Regions from separate parts of the Homo sapiens genome. Here region 2 is linked to region 1. The links are contacts of gene promoters, found by promoter capture Hi-C in human tissues and cell types (Jung and others, 2019). All regions are on one chromosome and are shown on one strand. The core of a region is centred on a gene start or on the middle of the fragment in contact, and the rest is flanking DNA. Distances in the headings are between cores, read along the strand shown.

Evidence for each region. Contacts are between HindIII fragments. The study calls those that stand out against the background at their distance.
Region 2: a fragment that was not itself captured here is called in contact with the fragment with the promoter of IL2RA in region 1 in 1 of the 25 tissues and cell types used here (mesenchymal stem cells).

Annotation. Positions count from the first base shown.
Region 1 is chr10:6,058,128-6,064,696 of GRCh38, forward strand. It overlaps IL2RA (interleukin 2 receptor subunit alpha), which reads right to left and starts at 4,240. Exons shown (of 8, transcript NM_000417.3): 1 at 3,961-4,240. The coding sequence starts at 4,024. RefSeq lists an enhancer at 3,951-4,000 and a cis regulatory region at 3,993-4,623. The HindIII fragment of the contact is 4,925 bases long and covers 2,606-6,569 here.
Region 2 is chr10:7,436,275-7,442,985 of GRCh38, forward strand. LOC124902373 (a long non-coding RNA gene) reads right to left here. Exons shown (of 2, transcript XR_007062050.1): 1 at 5,315-6,711; 2 at 4,220-5,105. Among named protein-coding and RNA genes, the nearest start is that of SFMBT2, 29 kb to the left of the region's middle. The HindIII fragment of the contact is 3,759 bases long and covers 3,495-6,711 here.

The sequences.
Region 1 (6,569 bases), core at 2,990-5,489:
AAAAGGAAGAGAAAAAAAAATCACAAAGAGGTATTCAGAATACCCAAGGCTTTAGGCAAAAACCAGTCTGGGAATACTTCTCTATCAGGGGAGTGGGGTGGAGTAGTGGAGTTTTAGAGCTCAGCAACCGTTCTATATTAGCACCTCTAACTGACGCATTCGTGAAACTCATTCTTTTGGTGCAGAATTGTGAAGTCAATTTTTTTCTTTTTCAATTCTCACATCTAAAATGAAGTATATGCACAGGTGATTTATCAAACTGCCTATTTAAGGCATGCTGTTTTAAGGAAAGTAGCAACTGTCTTATGAAGAGCTCCCAATGTTTAGGAAAGCCCTTACAGCCTCAAGACATGTCTTGAAGATGAATGAAGTAACAGTAGCAATAATACTTTGGGATCTCAAGAAGTTGAAAGATTAAATGTGAAGGGTTAAACATTTTGTGTTTGACTGACAAAGGTGAAGATGGGAAATTCCATTGTGGGCAGTTGTCTTTACAAGAATGGATAATTACACAAACACATTATCTCAATGGGTTTCCACACTGTTTTTTTAAAGAATTATTTTTGAGTCTAGAGGATAAAGATTTGATCACAGAATTCCTAGAATGAAAGAAAGATGATCAAGGGACATACAAGCTCTCAGAATTTCCACAGTTCTGAGAAAGGTGCCTTCAATAACGTGCCATATTGGTAATACCAGGAGAATTCTCTTTCTGACCACATCCCAGAGCCCAGTAATATAGAGACTAAAAACACTCAAGTTGACTAATATGTCCTCATAAACCCTTGCCATGTTAAATGGTGGCTTTGGAAATTTTCAGAATGAAAATCTGCCCTTATGAATCAGCTAGAAATTGCATCTGTTGACAGTCTGATTTCATTAGAGAACTCTTACCCTGAGGAATAAAAAGTCTGATTTGTTTCAAGACTAGGTTCCTCTTGGAGAAAAAGTCTGTGATGAGATGGTTTCTTACCCTGGAGTGATGCCTAGAAATTCCTGTTGATTCCAGAAACTTGACCCCTGTCATTGTCTTTGGCCACTGGGTCCTCATTTGCCTTGTGATTGGACTATTTTAAGAGCCTCATGACCTGTCTCTGTGCACCTGATCTCTCTCCACTCTATGCCAGTATCATCTCCATAAAGCGCTGACCCTGTTTGCAATGAACAGAAACAGAACAATCCAGGGAGACCAGGTTCAAACCCTGGCACTCTCACTGCCTGTGCGAGTCTGAGTTTTGGGTTCTTGCTTCATCTAGGGGTTCATGATATCCATACTGCAAAGTGGCTATGAAGATTACAATAGGACACATATCTGGCACATAGAAGTTACTTTATAAATGGTAGTTTTAAATTTTCTTGTAGTTCTTTATTGCCTACTAGGTGAAGTTAAGAAGTTATCACTAGGAGAATTCTCTTTCTGACCACATCCCAGGGCCCAGCAATATACAGACTAAAAATGCCTAATGCCTTAGATGATTCATTTTACCTCATCCTAACTTTCCAGTTTGAATTCCCCATATCCCCACCCTCCCTGTCCAGGGCAGGAGCACATTGGACCACCTGCTGCTCCCTAAGGCACTCCTGTGTTTTGGCTCATTGGGGTCTCTCTCCCTGGAATCTCATTGATGGAAATTTACTGGTCCCTTGGGGCTCCCTTTACATGTCATCCTCATGAAGCCTTCTCTGATAGCCCAACGCTCCGTAGATCTTACCACACTCTGACTGGTATTACTATATTTATATCTATGTTTTTCTCCTCCTCACCAGGTTATAAGTTGCTTAAGTGTCAGGACTATATCTCCCTCATTTTTGTATTTCCTATAGTGTTGAGGGGCAGATGGGGTATGGATAGATGTTGAGAATGGCGTGAAGGAGTCCTTATGGGACTCTAGTTCCCCTGCTCCCTCCAAGACCACTCAGACCCTTGGATAAGTCACCAATAGCTAGAAATAACACGAGTTTACTTGAAATGTGTCTTCCAGAGGCAGAGCATGATTAATTGTCAAGATTTTCCTGTTCTTGGCTTAGACTGAGTTAGCAAAGACCCTGTGGATGTAGAAATCACATTGAAAAACCTTCCTAAAAGTATGCCCTCTTTATAAGAACGGCACGATGGACTCTGAGGACTCAGGGGAAAGGGTGCGAGGTGGGTGAGGGAAAAGAGACTACGCACTGGGTACAGCATACATGCTCAGGTGATGGGTGCACCAAAATCTTACAACGCATTGGGTACAGCATACATGCTCAGGTGATGGGTGCACCAAAATCTTACAAATCACCACTAAAGAACTTATTCATGTAACCAAACACCACCTGTCCTCCAAAACCTATTAAAATAAAACACATAGGTCAGGCGCGATGGCTCACACCTGTAATCCCAGCACTTTGGGAGGCCATGGCTGGTGGACCACAAGGTCAGGAGTTTGAGACCAGCCTGACCAATATGGTGAAACCCCATCTCTACTAAAAATACAAAAATTAGCTGGTCGTGGTGGTGCACGCACCTGTAAACCTAGCTACTCAGGAGTCTGAGGCACGAGAATTACTTGAGCCCATGAGGTGGAGGTTGCAGTGGACTGAGATCACGCCACTGCACTCCAGCCTGGGCAACAGAGTGAGACTCTGTCTCAAAAAGTAAAAAAAAAATAAATAAAAATGTAATAAGTAAATAAAATGCCCTCTTTAAAGACACTCCTACATCTGGGCCAGTACACAGCCCAGCATGACTGGGCACTTCCCCTAAACAAGCAAGCAGACTCCTGAAATGCATCATTATGTTTCATTTCTTAATAAATTCTTTCTACAGCCAGTTAGCATTCTACTTGTTGCCATTATAGACTTTCAAAAAACACTATAAACTTTCTTATCTGTCTTCCTGAGTAAGCAAAGGGAAGACATTATTAGAAAATTCACACTCAATTAGGAAGAGTGGTTTGAGGTAGAAGTTGGTGGTTTTTTATTTCTTTAAAAAAAAATATTGGCCAGGCACGGTGGTTCATGCCTGTAGTACCAGCAGTATGGGAGGCCAGGGTGAGTGGATCACTTGAGCCCAGGAGTTCAAGACCAGCTTGGGCAACATGGCAAAAACCCCATCTCTACAAAAAAATAAATTAACCAGGTGTGGTGGCGTATGCCTGTAGTCCCAGCTACTCAGGAGGCTGAGGTGGGAGGATCGCTAAGCCTGGGAGGCGAAGGTTGCAGTAAGCCAATATCGCGCCACTGCACTCCAGTCTGGCTGACAGAGACAGTGTCAAAAAAAAAAAATCTTCGAGAAAATCCATTTGAAACAAGGAATGAAATTTAAAATTTGCATATATAAACACGTATACATATACATATCATGTATATACATAGGATTATGAGAAGTAGTAATGTTCTAAAAGTGAGTATGCATATTTTTAAAAATTTCTGTAAAGTTGCACTTGTAAGGAAATTCCTAGGTGTTATTTCCTAAGACGTAAAAGCAGTGTATACATCCTTGAAGCTAAACTTTTCTGAGATCTTAAATTCTCCCAGTGTTTGATATATGAGTACTCATGTCTCCAGCAAATTAACCTGAACTTAAAGAGCTTCCTGATAGCTTCTTAGTTGGGGGGTGGGAGTGCAGAGAATAAAAGGAAATTCATTGAAGAATAAAAGATAATTTCTTGAGAAACCTGCTCATCGGGACCCTGTTAACATCCAAATATCCCAAATATCATGCCACACTATTCTTCCCAGAATTAATTGTCAAGGACTGAGAAGGACAGGAGAACCTAATGCTATTTCAGGCTCTCTTGACAGACCAAGGAACAGTGAGGCATAAACTGGGGTCCCCGTGGGTCACAGGCAAGAGGTGGAACCCAAGATTCAACTCCCTTCTTGGAACCATCTACCTGGGGACTCCCTCTGGTTCTGTGGCTGGGAAGAGGGATGCCCATCAGCCTTCCCGGAATTCCGGGGGCACCCACAGGCCCTTACCTGCCTGGCAGCCAGGCACCATGATGAACGTGAGCAGTCCCCACATCAGCAGGTATGAATCCATCTTCCTGACCCTTGGGACCAGCCGGGGCAGTGAAGCGGAGGTCTTTCTCTGCAGAAGGCCCAGTTGCCGTCAGCCTCTTTTTGGCATCGCGCCGGAGGATGTGGGATGGGAAGATCGGTCCGCCTGGGCTGTCACCCTTGTGGGTCCATCCAGTCTCTATCGGAGTCAGGAGTTGCTCTCTTTAAGTATTGGGCTGGCGTGTTCAGCCAGGAAACTGCCTAGCACTCTCTTCTCTCATCTCAAATATAGGAAGTGTTTTTTTTTTTTTTTTTTTTTGATGACAATATAGTTTGCGGTAATTTTTCAAACCAGGTTTTTTTTTTCAAGTTCAATTGCTGGAGGTGTGGGCTGGGGTTGATGAGAAGGATTGAACTTCATTTATGAATCCTTTCTTCAGCTACGCCCATAAAAGGAGAGGGAGATTCCCCTGCCGTTGAAGGTAGGGTGAGCAAGCACTTCTTGGCAGTGGTCTCACCCAGCACTTCATAAGCTGAGTCCTCCCCTCAGGGCTGTAACGTCCTCAGGAGTCAGCCGGGACCACCTGGGATGAAGGAGCAAAGTCCTGACAAGATTCTGGTCAGGCAGCCTCCAATATTCAAATAATGGAGAAGGATGCGGCGAACTGAAGGATCCTGAGAATTCATAAATAATTCCCCAAGGCTTATAACCTGTACTAGCCATCATCATTTCACCACAGTGCCCTGGGCTCCTGAAAGTGCATTGTCATTTTATAAGGTGTTTTGCTTCCAGATTTCTTTCTCTTAAAGGATCATGCAAAAAGTGGGCTTTGGTTTTAAACTTTGGATTATTTTGTAAAATTCAGTCTTGCTTATTTATTGATCAGAGCTCTCTTCTGATTATTATGAAATGGTTGAGTGTGTTTTGCTCCCTGGAAATTTGTCTAAGACTTAAAGCCATTGCATAGTTAGAGCAAAACACAATTTTTTAAATACTAGAAAGCAAGCAAAGATATTAACAAAAAGAAAACCCTCCGGGCAAGCCAAGGAATTCAGGGTTCCAAAACACATCACGTTGACTGGGCCTGGTGGCTCATGCCTGTAATCCGAGCACTTTGGTAGACCAAGGTGGGTGGATCACCTGAGGTCAGGAGTTTGAGACCAGCCTGGATGACATGGTGAAACCACCGTCTCTACTAAAAAAAAAAAAAAAAAAAAAAAAAAAAAAAAATTAGCCAGGCGCAGTGGCACACGCCTGTAATTCCAGCACTTTGGGAGGCTGAGGCAGGCAGATCACCTGAGGTCGGGAGTTTGAGACCAGTCTGGCCAACATGGTAAAACCCCATTTCTACTAAAAATACAAAAATTAGCCAGGCGTAGTGGCGGGCGCCTGTAATCCCAGTTACTCAGGAGGCTGAGACAAGAGAATAGCTGGAACCGAGGAGGTGCAGGCTGCAGTGAGCTGAGATTGCGCCACTGCACTCCAGCCTGGGCGACAGAGTGAGACTTCCATCTCAAAAAACTTGTCAAAATATGACAAGATTCTCTTAAATTCCACAGCAGGTATAACTTCCTCTCTAGGAACGTTTCTCACTCTGCGGGCAAGTGCTCCAGTAGAAACTCCTAGTACTCCCACCAAAGTCACGCTCCTTTCTTCTTGGGCATGGGAGTAGAATGCACTTGCTGCCTCTCCTGGAAAATAGCTTATGCTTTAAGTAGTTAATGTGGATTGTCATTATAAAATATTTAAATTTATGTTAATGTCTTTTTTTTTTTTTTTTTGGAGCGCAATGGCACAATCTTGGCTCACTGCAACCTCTGCCTCCCAGGTTCAAGTGATTCTCCTGCGTCAGCCTCCTGAGTAGCTAGGATTACAGGCACGCGTCACCACATCCAGCTAGTTTTTGTATTTTTAGTAGAGACGGAGTTTCACCATGTTGGTCAGGCTGGTCTCGAACTCCTGACCTTAGGCGATTCACCCACCTCGGCCTCCCAAAGTGCTGGGATTACAGGTGTGAGCCACCACGCCTGGCAATTACAAGATTTTTTTAAAGCCATATCACAAAGCCCCCACAATTTTTCTGGTAAATAAGAGGCCCAACTCTTGGTTCTGAGATGGACCATGGTTAAACAAGTCATTGAACTGGCTTTTCTGGTTCACCTTACGGATGAACGCTCTGTCGTCGTTTGCTGATGCTGAGGTTTCCAGTTGATGCTGCATGGCACGATGCAGGGATGTGAGAAGAAGTTGGGGGTGCAAAAGCAGACCCATTTTGTCACGGATTGCCCAGGATCTCATACTGAAGCTGTAGCAAAGCTTTTGCCCTTAATGAGTTTACAGGTGAAATGGAAAGACACTTGAGTGTCCCTTCCTCCAGGAGGCCTTTTCCAGTCCTTTCTACTCCATCATAACACCTGCCGTGCTGCATTGCAATTCACTGTTTATATCTCTTTCTTTCTTCTAGTTGCTGTTAATCTTTTTTGGATTAAAAACTCTTTTTTGTTTTTAATTTAAGTTCCAGGATACATGTGTAGAACGTGCAGGTTGGTTACATAGGTATAAGTGCGCCATGGTGGTCTGCTGCACC
Region 2 (6,711 bases), core at 4,124-6,623, 1.4 Mb after region 1:
ATACAAAAATTGGCTGGACATGGTGGTGTGTGTCTGTAATCTCAGCTACTCAGGAGGCTGAGGCAGGAGAATCACTTGAACCCAGGAGGCGGAAGTTGCGGTGAGCCAAGATCACACTACTGCACTCAAACCTGGGCAACAAAGCGAGACTCCATCTCAAAAAAAAAAAAAAAAAGGGAGAGAAACAAGGGCAGAACAAGTTTTGCTATTGCTAGGACTAGTGCAGTAGCTTAAGGCGATGTTGGTAGGCAAGGCAGACTACAGAATTTGATAACGCAAAGGAATGTAGCCTGGATTTTTATAGTAGACTCTCCCAACTCTTTCTTCCACTTTTTCTTCCTCTTTTTTCCCCTTTCCACTTCCTATAAAATAGGATCAGTTGCTGACACAAGCTGCTAAAACTCCATCTGACCCAACTGCATTGCTTTCAAATGATGAGTCATTAAGTCACTGATATTTCTAGAGGGATGCTCTAAATCCAAATGCTGCCAGATGTCCCTTCCACTCAAAATGACTCGCTGTTCATTTGTGCACATTTTGAATTTTTGAGAGTGGTCTTATCTGTAAAGATTTATTCAAGGGTGGAAATCAAAGCTAGGTTAATTTTTGACACAGGAAGCCACCTTTTAAGGAAATGACTGTTTCAATCATTTTAAATCCCTGCCACATTTTCTGAAGCTCAGTTTCTATCATGAAAAAGCAGAATTAAGTGGCATGACTGAAGGTGACCCTGACAGTATTTTTTCTCTGACATGCAATCATTTATATCAATGTCATTGTATGTGCCTTCTGCTGTTAATGCCTCCCCTGCCTCCCCCAATATTATAAATCACCCAAGACCTCAGAGTACTTCCCTTGGAAGCTTGCACCAAGTCTCCTATTGCTTTAACCATTAATACATAGTTCCCACTTGGATGAGCCCCTTCCATTGCTCCAGACTATCTCTGGGACAGTCCTGCTCCACCATTGACTGGGAGGTGGCTCAGGAATGCCTGGACGTGGCCACCACAGACCAAAACTTGGGGTAGGACCAGCTATTTACAGCATAGACTTCAATGCCTTCCAAACCCAAGGTTCGGGTTCCTGCATGCACAGTACTGCGTTGAGAAGATCCAAGGCATTGGAGACGGGACAGATCTGCAGCGGACACATACTAGAAACTTACTTCTTAAAGAGTTTTCCCATTTGGAACATGGGGATAATAATCCCAACCATACAGTATTGTGAGAATTCACAAAGACACCACATGAAAGCTCTTGTCACATCATAGCCACCTAATAACTAGTGTGAACAGACACAATAGCTAATATTTATGAAGCACCTAATAAAGTCTGGGCACTGAAGTATGTGTTTTATGGACATTATCTTTTTTTGTTCCTCTCAACAACCTGAAAGACGGGGTATCATTATACTCATTTGACCGACCGGGAAAAGAAGCACAGAGAGGTGGCAGGACTTATTCAGGGTCCCATAGATGCTGAGTGGTAGATGAGAATTCAAATCCAACCCAGGTTTGTGTAAGACTCCTATGTTTTAGTTAACTAGATCAGGAATAAGCCCACAGGAACCATGAGATTATAAATGACTTAGAGCTTCATCGAGAAAGCTGCCATATGTTTATTATCAATAAAAACAAATATTTTTATCTATAAGTAAAGGGGCATTAACTCGAATTACCAAAGCCACTGGGCTTTTTTTTCCAGACCCTATTTTTCTGAACCTCATTAATTCCAATTTTAAATTATTATTATTATTTTTTTGAGACCGAGTCTTGCCCTGTCACCCCGGCTGGCATGCAGTGGTGTGATCTCTGCTCACTGCAAACTCTGCCTCCCAGGTTCAAGTGATTCTTCTGCCTCAGCCTCCTGAGTAGCTGGGATTATGGGCCTGCGCTTCCAAGCCCAGCTAATTAATTCCAATTTTAGCAAGCTACATTGAAGTATCAAAATAGCACCCGGATGAATGTAGCGGAATCAGCCCAGAGGAAGGTGGAGGTGGTTTGGGGAGAAGGTACTAATCCATGCAATAAAAGCCAGCACATCGTTTGGGGCTCTTATCTCTGTTCGGATCATGACATAACCATTGCCTGTCATCCAGAACACTATCACTTGCAGGCCGCGCCAAGATTCAATCTCCAACTCCACTTTTAATAGCTGTTGTCAGCTTGTTGCTAGAGAAATTATACTTAATTACGTGAGTAATGTGGTGGGTGTTTGTGTGTGCATTTTTTTTAAGAAGAAATGGCTTAAGCAAACTGCATGGGGCCTGGGATGGGTGCAGACTGAGAGGGAGACGTGGTATCGACTAGGAGAGGGAGAACTTCCTGTGAAAAATAGGAAGTTTAATGAGACGAAAATAGAATGAGTGTGATAAAAAGCGGCGCAAGGGAACGGATCAGGGACAGAGCGTCTCCCGTGTCTGTGTGTTTAAGGGTGTTAGGGATTGCCATCAATTGAGATCGTGTAATGCACTGTCTACTTGGACCTAATGTCCACTGTATGCAGTGCTGAGAGCTACAGCAATTGAAAGATAATAAGAGGAAAATGAGTAATGAATCCGTTTTATTGTATGCTGTAAATGGCCTCCATTGAAACAGTCTGTGTTTAGACTGGTAATAAAAATGAGTGATGAAGGCAGACGTTTAACATGGGAATTGGTTCAAGCAAGAAACATATTTTCTCGTTGTTTTTTTTTTAAGCCTCACAAATAATTTGGTTTATGAAGTAACTTCTTGCTTGGAAACTTTATGTAACTACTGCACAGTTTTTATAAGCCTTGGCAAGGGGTGTGTGTGTGTGTGTGTGTGTGTGTGTGTTTCTCATTTTGTGGCTTGAAACGTTGGCAAGGGCTATCACAGTAGCCAAGGAAGTTTGAATTTTATTTGTTAATTTGTCATATGTGGACCTTTGTCTCTCCACTGGGCAAACACAGGAGCCCCAGGAAGGACCATGTTCACAAAACATGGGGCGCTTCTTAGATATCGAGGATTCTGCCGATGGGGAGATCTATTCATCAAATACTCAAACTAGCCTTGTCTAAGCCCTGGAATTATTAACCCAACAGTGTATCAGCTCCTCTTCCTTTTCTTTATTTTTATTTCTTATTTTGAGACAGGATCTTGCTCTGTCACCTAGGCTGGAGTGTAGTGGTGCAATCTCATCTCACGGCAGCCTCAGCTTCCTGGGCTCAAGTGATTCTCCCTCCTCAGCCCCTCACCAAGCAGCTGGGACTACAGGTGCACGCCACCACACTCGGCTCATCTTTAAACTTTTTGTAGAACTGTTGCCCAGGTTGGTCTTGAACTCCTGGGCTGAAGTGATCCTCCTGCCTCAGACTCCCAAAGTGTTGGGGTTACAGGTGTGAGCCACCGCCCCCAGCCTTGCAGTTTCTCCTTCTCATTTGCCCTCCAACTAAAAGAAAAAATCTGACTGGGCACAGTGCCTCAAGTCTGTCATTCCAGAGCTTTGGGAGGCCAAGGCAGGAGTAGCACACTACTACAGCCGTAAGGAAACAAAACAAAATAGCGGTGACCCTCTTCTCTAACCTGGTCAGAAAATGAGACATTCTTAGTAATTACACATGGAGCACATTGATATACTTAGGTGTGGCATTCTGTGGGTTACTAATTTGCAGCAGTTAGAACGTGGAGTCCCTGGGTCGAGTGATACACGGCCAGCAGTGTGAGTGCTGGGGAGAGCAGAGGCAGAAGGCAGAATAGATAGCAGGGGGCAAGGCCAGTGGGCAGAGACACGGCCGACCCTGAAGCATCCCATGCCTCAGTTTCCTCCTGCATACAGGAAGGTTAGATAATTGCATAGGAATTTTCAGGTTCTAAAATGTGTGCAGAACCTAAACACAGTAAAATACTGCACAAAGACATTTAAAGACTAGGGAGGGTCGAAGTCAATCTTTCAATCATACATTTCATCAAAAACATTCTTTCAGGCTGGGCACAGTGGTTCACCCCTATAGTCTCAGCACTTTGGGAGGCCGAGGTGGTAGGATAGCTTGAGGCCAGGAGTTCTAGACCAGCCTGAGCAACACAGTGAGACCCCAAATGTACAAGAAATAAAAATAAAACAAATTAAGCCTGGCATGGTGGCACATGCCTGTAGTCCCAGCTACTTGGGAGGCTGAGGTGGGAGGATTGCTTGTGTACGAGGCTGCAATGAGCCATGATCACACCACTGCACTCCAGCCTGGGTGACCCTATCTCTAAAAAAAAATTGTTTTTAATGAAAAAAAATATGATTTACTATTTTTAACCCATCATAGTTTAAGAGTCTGGACATAGGACTAGCTCATTGTTTGGAAACCTAGTATATGCCTGGCACCCTTAACACAACCCTTCCAGCAACCCTGCGAGGTGGGTCCTTTTATCCTCATTTTAAGAATCAGAAATGGAAGACTTAGGGAAGCCTAATGACTTGTCCACTAATAAGTGACAGAACCTGGAACTCAAAGCTGAGTTCAATGGACTCTAGAGGCTCATGTTCTTTCCAGGGCACTGTCGCTCAGAGTGAGGTGTACTGCCCAAGTCATGGTAATGCCTGGCGTTCGCCACCTGATAGAAGCAACAACAACAATGAACACACCTCTGCCCAGGCAAGGTGGCTCACGCCTGGAATCCCAGCACTTTGGGAGGCTGAGGTGGGCGGATCACCTGAGGTCAGGAGTTCCAGACCAGCCTGGCCAACTTGGTGAAACCCCGTCTCTACTAAAAATACAAAAATTAGCCAGGCATGGTGGTGCACACCTGTAATCCCAGCTACTCGGGAGGCTGAAGCAGAAGAATCACTTGAACCCAGGAGGAGGAGGTTGCAGTGAGCAGAGACGGCGCCCCTGCACTCCAGCCTGGGTGACAGAGCTAGAATCTGTCTCAAAAACAGAAAACAAAAAACAAAAACAAAACAAAAAATCACCTGTGGGTGTAGGAGATGGCACGGCTGTCTGCAACAGGCTGGGAATAGAGAAGGCTGCACTTCCACACTACCCTGGGATGTTTTCTTGTCTCAATTCCTCAGACCTTGGCTCCAACCTCTAAAGCAAATTGCCTGGGTTGCTTTTGCAGTGGAAAAGCACCGGCACCCATTCCAGACGAAACTCTGATTAGGAAGAAAGGGAAGAGTTTGTAAAATGGGACGAAGATGAAATTGGAACAGAGCCTGGGAAAAGGAGATTATGGGGACCCTCCCTCCAGCCTCCCAGCCCCAGCTGTGCAGTGATCCATCAGGGGCTGAGCAGTGCAATTTATGCTTTCAGTCCACAGGAGCATCCAGGGAAAATGGAGGGGGTGGCAGGGAAGAAAAATGACCTTTTTGCTCTTCCCATGTTGCTCCGGCTTTCAGATCGCGCCTGCAATATCCTTGGCTTATTTGTGCCGCGTGGAACTGTTAGCAATCACAAGAGAACGACAGGATCAGTGGGGGAGATTCCAGCCAAGGTTTGCATCCAACCACAACTCAAATTAGTCCTTTTGAAAAATGGGTTCCCACCTGAAAGCAAAAATCAAAACACAAGAAAAAAAATCCTCATTGTTTCAGGTATCTGCAGTCCACTGAGCACTTTAGTCTTTTAGAAACCAAAGCTCCATAAGCTGCTGGAACACCTTCTACAGATTAACTGTGGCTTTCCTGTGTGCGTAGAACAGCACTCATTCCAGGATTCCCCATAATGTGTAAAATATTAACGTGATAAACTGGAAATGAAATAACACCACACCTGGGGACCATCGATCATAGCCAAACAGTAGACCTGCAGGGAGACTTCTCGAGGATTGGAGGTGGAGTTTCAGAATCAGCAGCACAAAATCCAAACACTTGGTCTGGCCCCGATGGCCAAGGGAGCATGCAGGACACTTCTTTGTATCTCACTGTATAGTAGGCGTGGTTAGTGCCTCTGGATCCAGGATCTGGGGACCACCCGTCATCTTGGCGTGTTGAATCAACGCCTTGCTTCAAATGCACAGTGACTCGAGTTTGTTACTGTATTCCCCGTCTGATTCCCTGCCCCGTCTCCAGGCCCAGGCAGTGACCAGAGCTCCATGTATTCAGATGCTCTAAAGGAAACACATGTTTGAGTTGCAAGCAGGTGTTTTGCCTCCCTGTCATTGTTCTTCCCATTTAAGCTTTTCTGGAACTGCTCAATGAGCTTGCAGCTTGGGCAGCCCTTGAATTTGAGAGAGGAAGGTGGAGCGGCTATAGGGAGTGGGGAGGTCACAGAGGAGCACACCTCATTGAGGGAACCCAGCCTGAGATTCAGACTTGGTAAGTCAGCACAGGAAACAGCAGGCTGGAGAGGAGCTGGGTGCCATGACACACAAAAGGAGGAAATACCTGGGGTCCGAGTGCACTCCCACGTAAAGCTTCAATCACGCCGTGTAGACAGCTGACTCTGTGACGAGCCATGAGCCAGCTCATCCACGGGCCGTGTATGTTCCACGGCCACACAATCCATGATTGATTTTCCCTACAGAGTCCGAGGGAGAATTCAGTATAAAAATACCCTGTTCAACAAACAAGTCAAACGACCGGAAAGGGAGATGAACTGGAGGCCGAGGCGCACCCGATGGGTTAGGCAAGCCATTTGCAAGCTGAATGTGCCATGCACTCAGCCACTCTGCAGTTCTCTGCAGAGGTAGGAATTGGAATCCAAGATGTGGGGACCTCCCCACCCCATAAAATGGGTCATTTTGAAATCTTGGTCTTAATT